2 separate regions of the Homo sapiens genome follow, and region 1 is linked to region 2. The links are contacts of gene promoters, found by promoter capture Hi-C in blood cells and fetal thymus (Javierre and others, 2016). All regions are on one chromosome and are shown on one strand. Each heading gives the region's core, a stretch centred on a gene start or on the middle of the fragment in contact. The rest is flanking DNA. Distances are from core to core; before and after follow the strand shown.

What was found. Contacts are between HindIII fragments. The CHiCAGO score rates a contact against its expected background, and 5 or more counts as called.
Region 1: a contact is called between a fragment that was not itself captured here and the fragment with the promoter of POT1 in region 2, in 2 of 17 cell types (megakaryocytes and erythroblasts). The highest score is 10.1, in megakaryocytes.

The regions. Positions count from the first base shown.
Region 1 is chr7:125,672,173-125,677,654 of GRCh38, forward strand. No RefSeq gene overlaps it. Among named protein-coding and RNA genes, the nearest start is that of LINC02830, 520 kb to the left of the region's middle. The HindIII fragment of the contact is 5,812 bases long and covers 830-5,482 here.
Region 2 is chr7:124,928,345-124,933,842 of GRCh38, forward strand. It overlaps POT1 (protection of telomeres 1), which reads right to left and starts at 1,481. Exons shown (of 19, transcript NM_015450.3): 1 at 1,450-1,481; 2 at 471-655. POT1-AS1 (POT1 antisense RNA 1) reads left to right here and starts at 1,529. Exons shown (of 8, transcript NR_125719.1): 1 at 1,529-1,672. RefSeq lists enhancers at 1,417-1,716, 1,471-1,765. The HindIII fragment of the contact is 3,988 bases long and covers 1-1,769 here.

The DNA of each region.
Region 1 (5,482 bases), core at 2,486-4,985, 750 kb after region 2:
TTATCATGCTTCATTATGAGAAGCTAGATAATTACCCCTAAAAATGAAAATGGGCAAGATGTCTTCTGTTACTATATCTATGGAACATCATATGGTGATCTTAACTAGTGGAATAAGACAATAAAAATAAATAGAAGGTGTGAAGATAAGGAAAAGGACATAAAACTGTCTCTGTTTATAGAAGACATGTTTGACCATGAGGAAAATACCTCCCAAATCAGATTTACGGGTATAGTAAAGAAACATAGACATGTAATTATATATGTATGTACTCACTTGGTGTTATTTCCCATCCTCAACATATATTGAGGAACTTATAATCAGGAAAAGTATTAATTGTTTTTCAATTTGAAACATGCCATATCTTCCCCTAATAATTTTAAATTTCTGATAGTATTTGGGCTTCCTGATTTTTAGCTTCTATTTTCCATTTTTTTTAATCTGGTAAACATCATGTTTAAAGAATTCTTTATATTTTGCCAATCTCAGGGCTTTACCTAACTAACTCATAGAAATTTTATTATTAGTCATCCATTGGAAAACACAACTATTCGGTTAGCGAGTCTGTTTTTGTTTTAAAACTCTTATTTGTAAGAATAGTATCTAAAAGGTTTTAATAGCCTGTCATGTGCCAAGCATAGTACATGAATTATCTGTAACATATTTAGCCATAATTAACACTACAGAAAAAATAATAATTCCCCATTTTACAACTTATTTTATTTATCCATTAACACACACAAATATGCAGCACATACCATGTGACAAGTACTGGTCTACATACTTTCTTACATTAGTGATCATAACGACAAAGTCCCAGTTTGAGTGAAGCTTATATTACACTTAGGGAGGAAAAATAGTATATAGACAAAAAACAACATGTATAACAGAAATGTTGATTGTATAACATGTTAGAAGATAGTAAATATGTTCTAGGAAAAGGAAATTTGCAAATGTCAGTATGAGTGGATATGGGCACAGTAATTGTAGGAAATAGAAAACATTAAAATCAAAAATCAAAATCAGAACACATCGATGTTTCAGCATAAATAAAATTGATGATTATGCTTTTAAAAAAACTTTACATATAGCTTTCAATATATCATATCACTAACCTCTTCCTTTATCAATAAATAAATGCCTTTATCTGACAGAAGTTTGTCCAACCTGTGGCCTGTGAGTCACAAGCAGCCCAGGACAGCTTTGAATCCAGCACAACACAAATTCATAAACCTTCTTAAAACATTATGAGATTTTTTTTGCAATTTTCTTTTTAGCTTATCAGTTATCGTTAGTGTTCATGTGTTTTATGTGTGGTCCAGGACAATTCCTCTTCCAATGTGGCCCAGAGAAGCCAAAAGATTGGACACCCACCCCTGATAAAAGATCCGTATTTATTGGTTCCACACTCAGTACAAGATGTTGTTCTGTCACTCAAATTTAATATAAATAATAGTTAATGAGCTTTTTTTTTTTTTTTTTTTGAGACGGAGTCTCGCTCTGTCTCCCAGGCTGGAGTGCAGTGGCGGGATCTTGGCTCACTGCAAGCTCCTCCTCCCGGGTTCACGCCATTCTCCTGCCTCAGCCTCCCGAGTAGCTGGGACTACAGGTGCTCACCACCATGCCTGGCTAATTTTTTGTATTTCTACCATTTCTAGTAGTGTGGATGCAGGAAAAAAAAAAATATCTACAAGGTATTTTATTGTTTCAAGATTTGTTAGATTATGATGATGGCAGGACATAACAACAATGACTCCAGAAAAATGAAAGGCAGAATTCTTTATTACTTATATAGTCCTGCACGAGAGGCGGCTGTGGGGTAGGGCTACATAGGGGTTGCACCCAGAAAAAAGGTAGCAGCAACCTAGAAACCTAGGAGGAGGCTTATATAAGGCAAGTCAAGTGAGTGAGCAAGGTTCAGAGGGTTTGTTATGGACTGGGAATTTTAAATAATTCCATGGGCCCAATGAAGGAAGGGCCATTCCTCCATATGTGGCTCCCAGGCTTTTGGCAGTTGGGTACGTATGTAGTAAAACGGAGCAGCAGAGCCCGATAAGGTAAATCACTGGGGTGTAGGTTTAGCAAACAGCCTGGGAAGAAGACTTGAAGATTTTTTGGCAATGGTCTCAAAACTGGATCAAGACAGCACTTGTGCAATATTATATTGTAATACATCTCTGCAGGGAAAGTATATTATAATTGTGGAGGTGCACATAAAACATAAAGAGGAACACATAAAATGCTTTTTGAATTATAATCATTCATATTTGCCCACTATTATGATTTCATAATATCTTGGCTGTATTATTGACATATTCCTACTTTTTCTCTATGTACTAGTACTCTATCACATGATCAATTTACAGTAGAAAACCAGATAATTCTTTCTAATACACATATTGCATCTATTCCATGCCTTCAATGAATTTCCCATTGTTTAAACTATAGGTCAAGAAACTGTCCAATTGCTATACTTGTTTGGGAAGTTTTATACAAAATACAGATTTCTGTGATTAAGCATGTCTAGAGAGAAGCATATAAATCTTAATGAATTTTAGTACTTTCTAGCATGTAAATATATTTTTTCTAATTATTGAAAAGATGATTGGTTAGGATTCAGACGAAAAAAAAAAAGTATACACTGTTCCCATTAAAGTAACTAGGAAGCCACTACAACCAAGAAGTTGCCAGAGGTGAATGCCTTCTCTGCCTCTACAGGTTCCAAAACCACGTCGGCTCTGATCACATGAACACAATGAGTTGCCGCAAGGCTAGTGACCAGATAGTTTCAATAGCCCAAAATGGTCAAAGTCCGCACTATCATAAGTACTCACATTAGCCATCAAAGTAATAATGCTATCAAATGTGATGTAGCCTTTAGAATACTCTACTGTACACCCATGAAATAATGAGTGTGTAAAGGGTTCAAATGTCTAAGAGTCCTTAGAATCAGGGTTCTCTAAGTATTCTGAAAACCATTGTCTTGGGGCAATAGTCATTTACAGAATTTGTAACTCTCCCTGAACTATCTAAGCTCAGATTATGAAATGTTACATAAATGGGAATCATAATTGTTAGTGTCTCGGGAATCAGGTTTGAACATTAATGCAGCAGTAACAAATGTAAGACTTTATTTTCAGGACAAAATAAACTATTTACATGATTATGTTTCTATCTATTCACATGATGGGTAGAACACATGACATCATCACTTTTAGATGAAAAACATTGAACATTAGAAATGGTTTGGTTTGCACTAAATAGGACATGAATAATATTCTGCTTTAATTTTAAAAATGCAAAAAAAAAAAATGTATGTGTATCTTATTGTGCATTTCACTTTGAAAGTTAGGTACACCATACATCGCATACGGTATCCAAATATATTTCAACCGTGATGAAAATTTAGTTATCATGTTTTTTTCTAAATGGAAATTTAGTCTTATTTTCATACCAGTATTATAAGTAGATTTCTGTTTTGGAGTTTGCAAAGCTAAAAAAATCTTTAGTTAAATATGGGAATAGTTCTGCCAACATTCAGTCTTGGAAATTATGGACAGTGAGTTCTAATCCCGTTTTGCCAGTGACTCTTCTGTGGCATTGAACATGTCATTTTGCTTTTCTGTTTCAGTTCTGTCATCTGTGAAGCAGAGATAATATTGTTCATTTGAGCACATTGTTCCAGTCTGTATCCTCTGAATGACTTTGCAAAAGAAACTCTGCATATGAATTTGAATATATGCCAACAAAATTAGAACAAGTTATCTACTTCAAAAGTATGCAAAAACGAACCAATAGAAATCATTTTGGAAATGCACTATGTGCATTCCTAAATTGGAGCAAATTTATCATTCTAGGCAATCCACCTCCACATTTATAAAAATATAAGAGATAATTGTTTTTCTCTTATTGTAGAAAAAAGTAAACTACCGAAGTACAATTTGTCTCTTTCTCTTTGGAAAGGTTATAATCGTATCACAATCAACTATATCTGTTAATCAGATTTGGTGCTAGTTGTTCCCAATGACAAAAATAGAGCAGTATAAACATTTCTACCCTCTGTTTTGTTAAGTAATCAAATTTTTCAGCCTCAGACAATTTCAATATTACTAGTTAGAAACAACAACAACAAAGTTCCTGAATTCTCCAGAGGTAACAGTATCAATTTTACTCAGAAGTACTACCCCAGACAGAGAAAAATAAATACGTAAGTCTGAGTTTTTGTTTGTTTGTTTACCGTCCTTAACATTTATATCTTTAGTAGTCTTAGCCTTGTTTCTGCTACTCCAAAAATCATGATTGGTATCTTCAAGGTACAATTTTATCAGAAGGAATAGCATACTAATTATGATTGCAGGATCTGTAATAAAAAAATGTGGGTTTGAATTTATTTTCCCATTTACGAACTACATATTATTTCAAAAACTACCTATTGTAATGAATGTGTAATTGTAATAAATATTAAATAATGTGCTTGATTATAGATAGATTAACATTTGCTTTATACAATTAAAGGAAATCTATTATTTTAGAAACATCCCTTTGAACGGATTGAACTCTGATTAACGTATAAATCTTAGAGTTGCATTATCTCACAGATAGATAAATTTAACTAAATTTGAGTTTAAAAATGTTTGGAGGAAAACAGATGAAAATTAATAGTGGTACTCACATTGAGAGGATAGAATTTAGTATTTTAAATATTGTTTCCTTAGACTATTCTACATTTGCCAAATGTTCTATGATGAGTATGTCTAAATTCTACAGTGTTTTCTGTTCATCTTACATTAAGTTTTGTTACCTACTTGTTTTAGTTTCCTTATTAGTAAAACAACAAATAATATTACCTTGTTAGACTTTTGTAAAAATAAACAAGTAAAATTTAAACAGAAGTAATAAACAATATTTTACCATTTTTTAAAATCTATTGAGACAGTTGTATCTCCAAGCCTTCTCCTACACAACTTATTCCATTTCAGGTTTGTATCTTTAATTCTTAACTATGAGGAAAGACTCTTGCAACTTTAGGACAAACATCAATATTTTAGTGACAGTGGCCTGGGGGCTGACCAGCTTATTTGGTTAGAACATTGTGTAGAGGATAGATGCTATGGGTTCGACTCATACATGGCAATTCATTTATTCATCCAAGAATCATTTACCAAGAATATCCTAAGTTTCTGTGCTAGGCAATGGCAAGAAAAATGAATTATAAAGTGTCCCTCTTAGTAACATCTTAGCTAGTAAGACCAACTTGTTCAGCACCTGCAGATGTCATTTCACTGTCTTCTGACTTTCATTGTTTCAGATTAGAAGTCATCTTTAATTCTGATCTTTTTTCCCCTGTATGTATGAAACTTTCTTCTCTGGCCAATTTTAAGATTTTTTTTCTTCCTCATGTTTTACGCAATTTTATTATAATATACCTTGGTGTGGTTTGTGTTTTCTCCTTGGGGTTTTTTGAGCTTCTTGAATAAAATCA
Region 2 (5,498 bases), core at 231-2,730:
TAGAGTAATATCCAAATTCCTCAACATGCACATAAGGACTGCTTTTTACCTCAAAGGAAGGTACAGCACAGTCTGTTATCCCGTAAGTTCCAGCTCAACTTTCGTGATCTGTCAGAACCAAAAGCTCTCTCATGTTCACACATCACAATGCTAATATCACACCTATTAATTTTAATTGGAGATCAGGTGATTGATCTGTCAGACCCCACAGAAATGTGATTATCTTTAGTTCCGGGACTATATTTATTCATCTTTGTACCTCAGAAACTTACTCCAATGTTTCACACACGAATTTGATAATTGTTCGCTAAATAAGTACTGAATAAGAATAACTTATTGAAATATTCAATCTCAAATGTTATGACAAAGATAAAAACCATACCTAAACCAGTTCTCATAAATAAACTCAACACTTAAAAACTGCATTCCTTTTAGTAGGAAAAAGCATTCTGAGTTATAGAAATTCTTACCTGAATATATTTCTTGCTATAATTGTAACCTGGCTGTAGGGATCCGAAATCTACTTTATGTAATTTACTCAGCGGCTGAACTTCAGGCACCCCATTGACTTCCTTTATTAATTCAAGTGGCATATCAGTTCTGCTTCACACTGATGTCCAAAGCAAATTCAACTAGGGAATCTGACAACTTGCTGCTGAAAATACAAAACCAGTGTTTTACCCAAAATGAAGTCAATAATTTGCTTTAAGTCTCTTTGACTTAGTTATGCTTTTCCTTATTATAGTTAACACGGTTCGGGGTTGGGGGGTGACAGGAGGATGGATTATTTTACAATTTTATTGCAAAGATCAATACAAAACATTCTTCCAAGGAACTGAAACTTAACCATTTTCTACTTAGCTGCGTAAAGTACCTCCAAAAAGCCAGTTTTAAGATCTGTAACGTCACTAACAAACGCTTTTAACATTGTGCTTTAAAATGTAAAATTTATTGGGGAAGAGGGAGGCTGAAAAATCGTGTTTTTTTTTAACCCCCACGGGAGCTGTAATATTGTATAGACAAACTGTGCACCAAAAGCATCGTACTCCAACATGTTTCTGTGGCCCCCTCCCTTCACCCGCTAAATAAATGAAGAAACAAAAATTACTGAACTGAGATTAACTTCTGCATCGTAGGCTCAACCTTATTTCACAGACCTCTTGACGGGGACACTCACTAGTGTCGATATCTAATTTTAATGTTTGCGCACCAACCTTCCCCCAAGCCACCTGAGCTCTGTGAGGGCGGGGACTTGGACTTAACTCCTGTCTGCTTCTCCCAAAACACCAAGAAAGATGCTGAACACAGCAGGCTCGAGATAAACACTCGTAAGAAAGCGTTTCTCTGCGATAATTACATCAAATTTTGATCTAAACTAATTCAATCCCGGGCCCGTTACGTCTGGCACCCACTCAAATGAACACACCAAACCTTACAAATTTCACTCACCCGTACTCTAGAAAGAACCCTAGGAAGAGTTTAGGCGGGCGCGCAGGTGACGTCACACGCACGCTGACGGTTCAGCTCCACGCATGCGTGCAGGATCCCTGGGCATAGTCGCTTGTTCTCCGCCCGCGGTGGACCAGCTGCGTAACGGTTCACACACTGATGGCGCCTGGAGGTTTGGCGAAATACTGACAGGATGCGACGTCAACGGGAGCGCAGGGCCAAGGTACAGGCCCCGCCCAGTCCGGTCACATCCCCCGGAATTCTCGCAGCTCCCCTTAGCTCCGCCCCCAGTGACTTTCCAGCTTTCGTGGCGGGAGGCAAGCTTAGGGGAAGCGGGCGGGTCCGCTGGGCGGGATTTGAGCTTCCCTTTGGTAGATTCGAAGCTCCTGTAGGCAGAGCCTTTCTTTTAATGTCCAGTTCTCTTCCTCCAAGAAATAGGCACCTACTGCAGTCTTTACAAGGAAGCATTTACAAGGATAACAATGTTATTTGGGAGTTTTTATAGTAATTTCGGGCATTGGCATAATGCCACCATTGAGTCTTGCTATTTACAGACAGATTTGATTAACCTTGTCATTGTTTTATAGGGCCATGATTTTGTGGTATAATTAATATTTATTATAATTTATTTTATAGGTTTATTATAGTTTATTTAATATTTATTATAACTTATAATTGATAAATATTATAATTTATCATTTATAATGATAAATTGTTAAACATGAATTCTCTGCTAATTCCAGATATATGCCTTCAATCATTTAAGTGAAATCATCCTAGTGTGAAACTAAATGTAATAAAGAATTACATGAATATTTCCAAGGCTAATTTGAACTAAAATATCTTCTTTATATACATATTTGCAGGAGGATATAGCTAACTTTTTTTTTTTTTTTGAGACGGAATCTCGCTCTGTCACCAGGCTGGAGTGCAATGGCGCAATCTCGGCTAACTGCAACCCCCACCTCCCGGGTTCAAGCAATTCTTCTGCCTCAGCCTCCCTAGTAGCTGGGATTACAGGCGCAGGCCACCATGCCTGGCTAATTTTTGTATTTGTTTAGTAGAGACGGGGTTTCCCATTTTGGCCAGGCTGGTCTCGAACTCCTGACCTTGTGATCCGCCCACCTTGGCCTCCCAAAGTGCTGGGATTACAGACATGAGCCACTGTGCCCAGCCAGCTATGTTTGAAGTGCCTTTTTAATCAACAGGAAGCATTCAGTATTAGCCCATCTCCTGTTTCCCCTCCCCATCCCTGTAGTTATATCCCACGCAGAAGCCGGGGTGACAAGTGCATGAACTCAGGAGCTGTCCATTTGAGGAAAACTATAGGGAAGGTTTAGATGCTATCCTCCTTCCATCTCTGGCTGCATCCGGCTGAGAAATACTATTCCTCCTTTTTATGTGAAGCCCTCCACATGGGCTTTGGACCCTGACCAATTTCATCTCCCTTCCATCATCATCAATATATTTTCTCTTAATGTATTTTAAGCTTTCCTTCTTTTATTCATTCTTTCCCGTCACCATTTAAACACATTCTCCCAGGCTCTTGCTCTGTCGCCCAGGCTGAAGTGCAGTGGCGAGATCATAGCTCGCTGCAGCCTGGAACTCCTGGGCTCAAGCTATCCTCTGGCCTCAGCCTTCTAAGTAGCTGGGACTACAGGCACAGGCCACCACACCCGGCTAATTTTTTAAAAAAATTTTGTGGAGACGAGTTCTCACTATGTTGCCCAGTCAGTCTCACACTCCTCTGTGGGTACTAAATATTTGTTGAATGAACAAATGCTGAGGAAAACTGTTTATCTTACTTCTGACTTCCACCCCTCCATCCCACCCCTGCCCCCCACCACCCCATTACACTTAAACTGCCCTTAGAAAAACCACTGAAGAACTCTTTATTGCTAACCCAAAAGGACATTTTTAGTCTCATATTTTTGAAAACATTCTTTGTGCTACAACATGGTCCTAGTTTTCCTCTTACCTTCTACCAACTGAATCTTTTAAAATTTCTCATAATCTGTTTAGCCTGTAAGTATCCATGTTCTGTAGAATGTGATGAAGATGTCTAATAGAGGTATACGTAAGTCCTTTTATTTTGTTAAAGTGGTTGTTCTCAGTTCCTGTGGGACACAACACTTCCTACACGTTCAAGTAACTTCCAATCTTATTTCTTCTGCATAATCTCCCAATTAGTGGCAGAGGCTCCAGAGCCTGTAATGCTTTCCCTCACATTAGCAATTAATTTCCACAAATGAAGAAAATTGCTCATGAATATACAGTACAATTTAAGATAATAAGAGAGGAAAAAAAGAGATTGAATCAACTGAATAAGGCAATGAAGACATATTAATGCCAAAACAATCCATTACTATTGTTCTATGCCTGTTGAAGCAGCATAAAAAAGCTACTCTAAGGCTAACAATTAATGTAATTGTTATTAGAAGTTATGACTTTTAAAGGTTCAATGAAAAAAGTTTTTATATAAAATCTGCAATGTAAAAATGTTCATTTTAAGAAAAGTTAAAATTAAATTTTCATTAATAAATAATGAAGACTAAAAGCAAAATGGGTAATTTTTAAGTGATGTATAAATATAAGGATTCAGTATAGTTATCATAAATAAATCAAACGTGAAAGAAATTAGTCTGCAAATTTCTGACACATCTTCCCTCTCATAGCATTTTCATATTATCCTTTACTATTTACTTGTTAATGTCTACATGTAAAATTGAATTGCCTAACATGTCCAGCACTTCAAATTCATTTCCTTTGCATTAATTGTGGGGTGATTAACCCATTCCTGTTTGCAGTCCATCTGTCCTGCAAGCTGTTATCATCAGGTTGCATCTCTAGAGCCTGACAATATCATCTTCTTACTCCTGAGATTTTCTAGGAATAATAGCTAGGCTACATTAGTTGGAGTTCATTTCCTTGTGTCTAATATTCTTTCTGCCCAATCCTAATGAACATCTAAATGGATTTGTAAAATCCTATTTCAATAAAGCATCAAATTTTTATATTGTTATGTAGCTGAGCCAGGAGATAAATCAAACATAATTTTTTCTCAAATGTATGTTTAAGTTACAAATTTAAATGGTAAAGCATGTAATCACTCAGTGCATACTAGGAAGCAAAATAAAGATATTTTTAAAACATAATATTAGGTACCACAAATTGAGAAAACATTATTATCCATTGAAGAGGTCTCTCAAAAGCTTTTGTACTTTAATAATAAATCTTTTTAATTTATTATTTAAAATATCCTAGGCCAGGCACAGTGGCTCACACCTGTAATCCCAGCACTTTGGGACGCCGAACCAGGCAGATCACAAGATCAGGAGTTCGAGACCAACCTGGCCAACATAGTGAAAACCTGTCTCTACAGAAAATACAAAAAATTAGCCAGGTGTGGTGGCGGGCACCTGTAATCCCAGCTACTCGGGAGGCTGAGACAGGACAATCACTTGAACCCAGGAGGTGGAGGTTGCAGTGAGCTGAGATCACACCATTGCACTCCAGCCCGGGAAACAGTGCGAGACTCCGTCTCAAAAAAAAAAAAAAAAAATCCTCATCAGTTAAAAAATTGTCTTTCCTTCAGTTGCTACTCATTTTAAGAATTGTTGGGCCAGGTATGGTGGCTCTCGCCTATAATCCCAGCACTTTGGGAGACCGAGGCGGGTGGATTACCTGAGGTCAGGAGTTCAAGACCAGCCTGGCCAACATGGTGAATCCCCATCTCTACTAAAAATACGAAAAAAATTAGCTGGGCCTGGTGGCACACCCCTGTAATCCCAGCTACTCTGGAGGCTGAGGCAGGAAAATTGGTTGAGCCCAGGAGGCAGAGGTTACTGTGAGTCGAGATCGTGCCACTGCACTCCAGCCTGGCCGACAGAGCAAGATTCTGTCTCAAAAAAAAAAAAAAAAAGAATTGTCCAAGGAAAAAAATAACCTATATTCAAATTTTAATTATAAACTATAAGTAGGTCAATATATTATACTGTATTGATCCATATGAATGAATTACAAATACGAACTTTCTCTTGTTGAAAGAC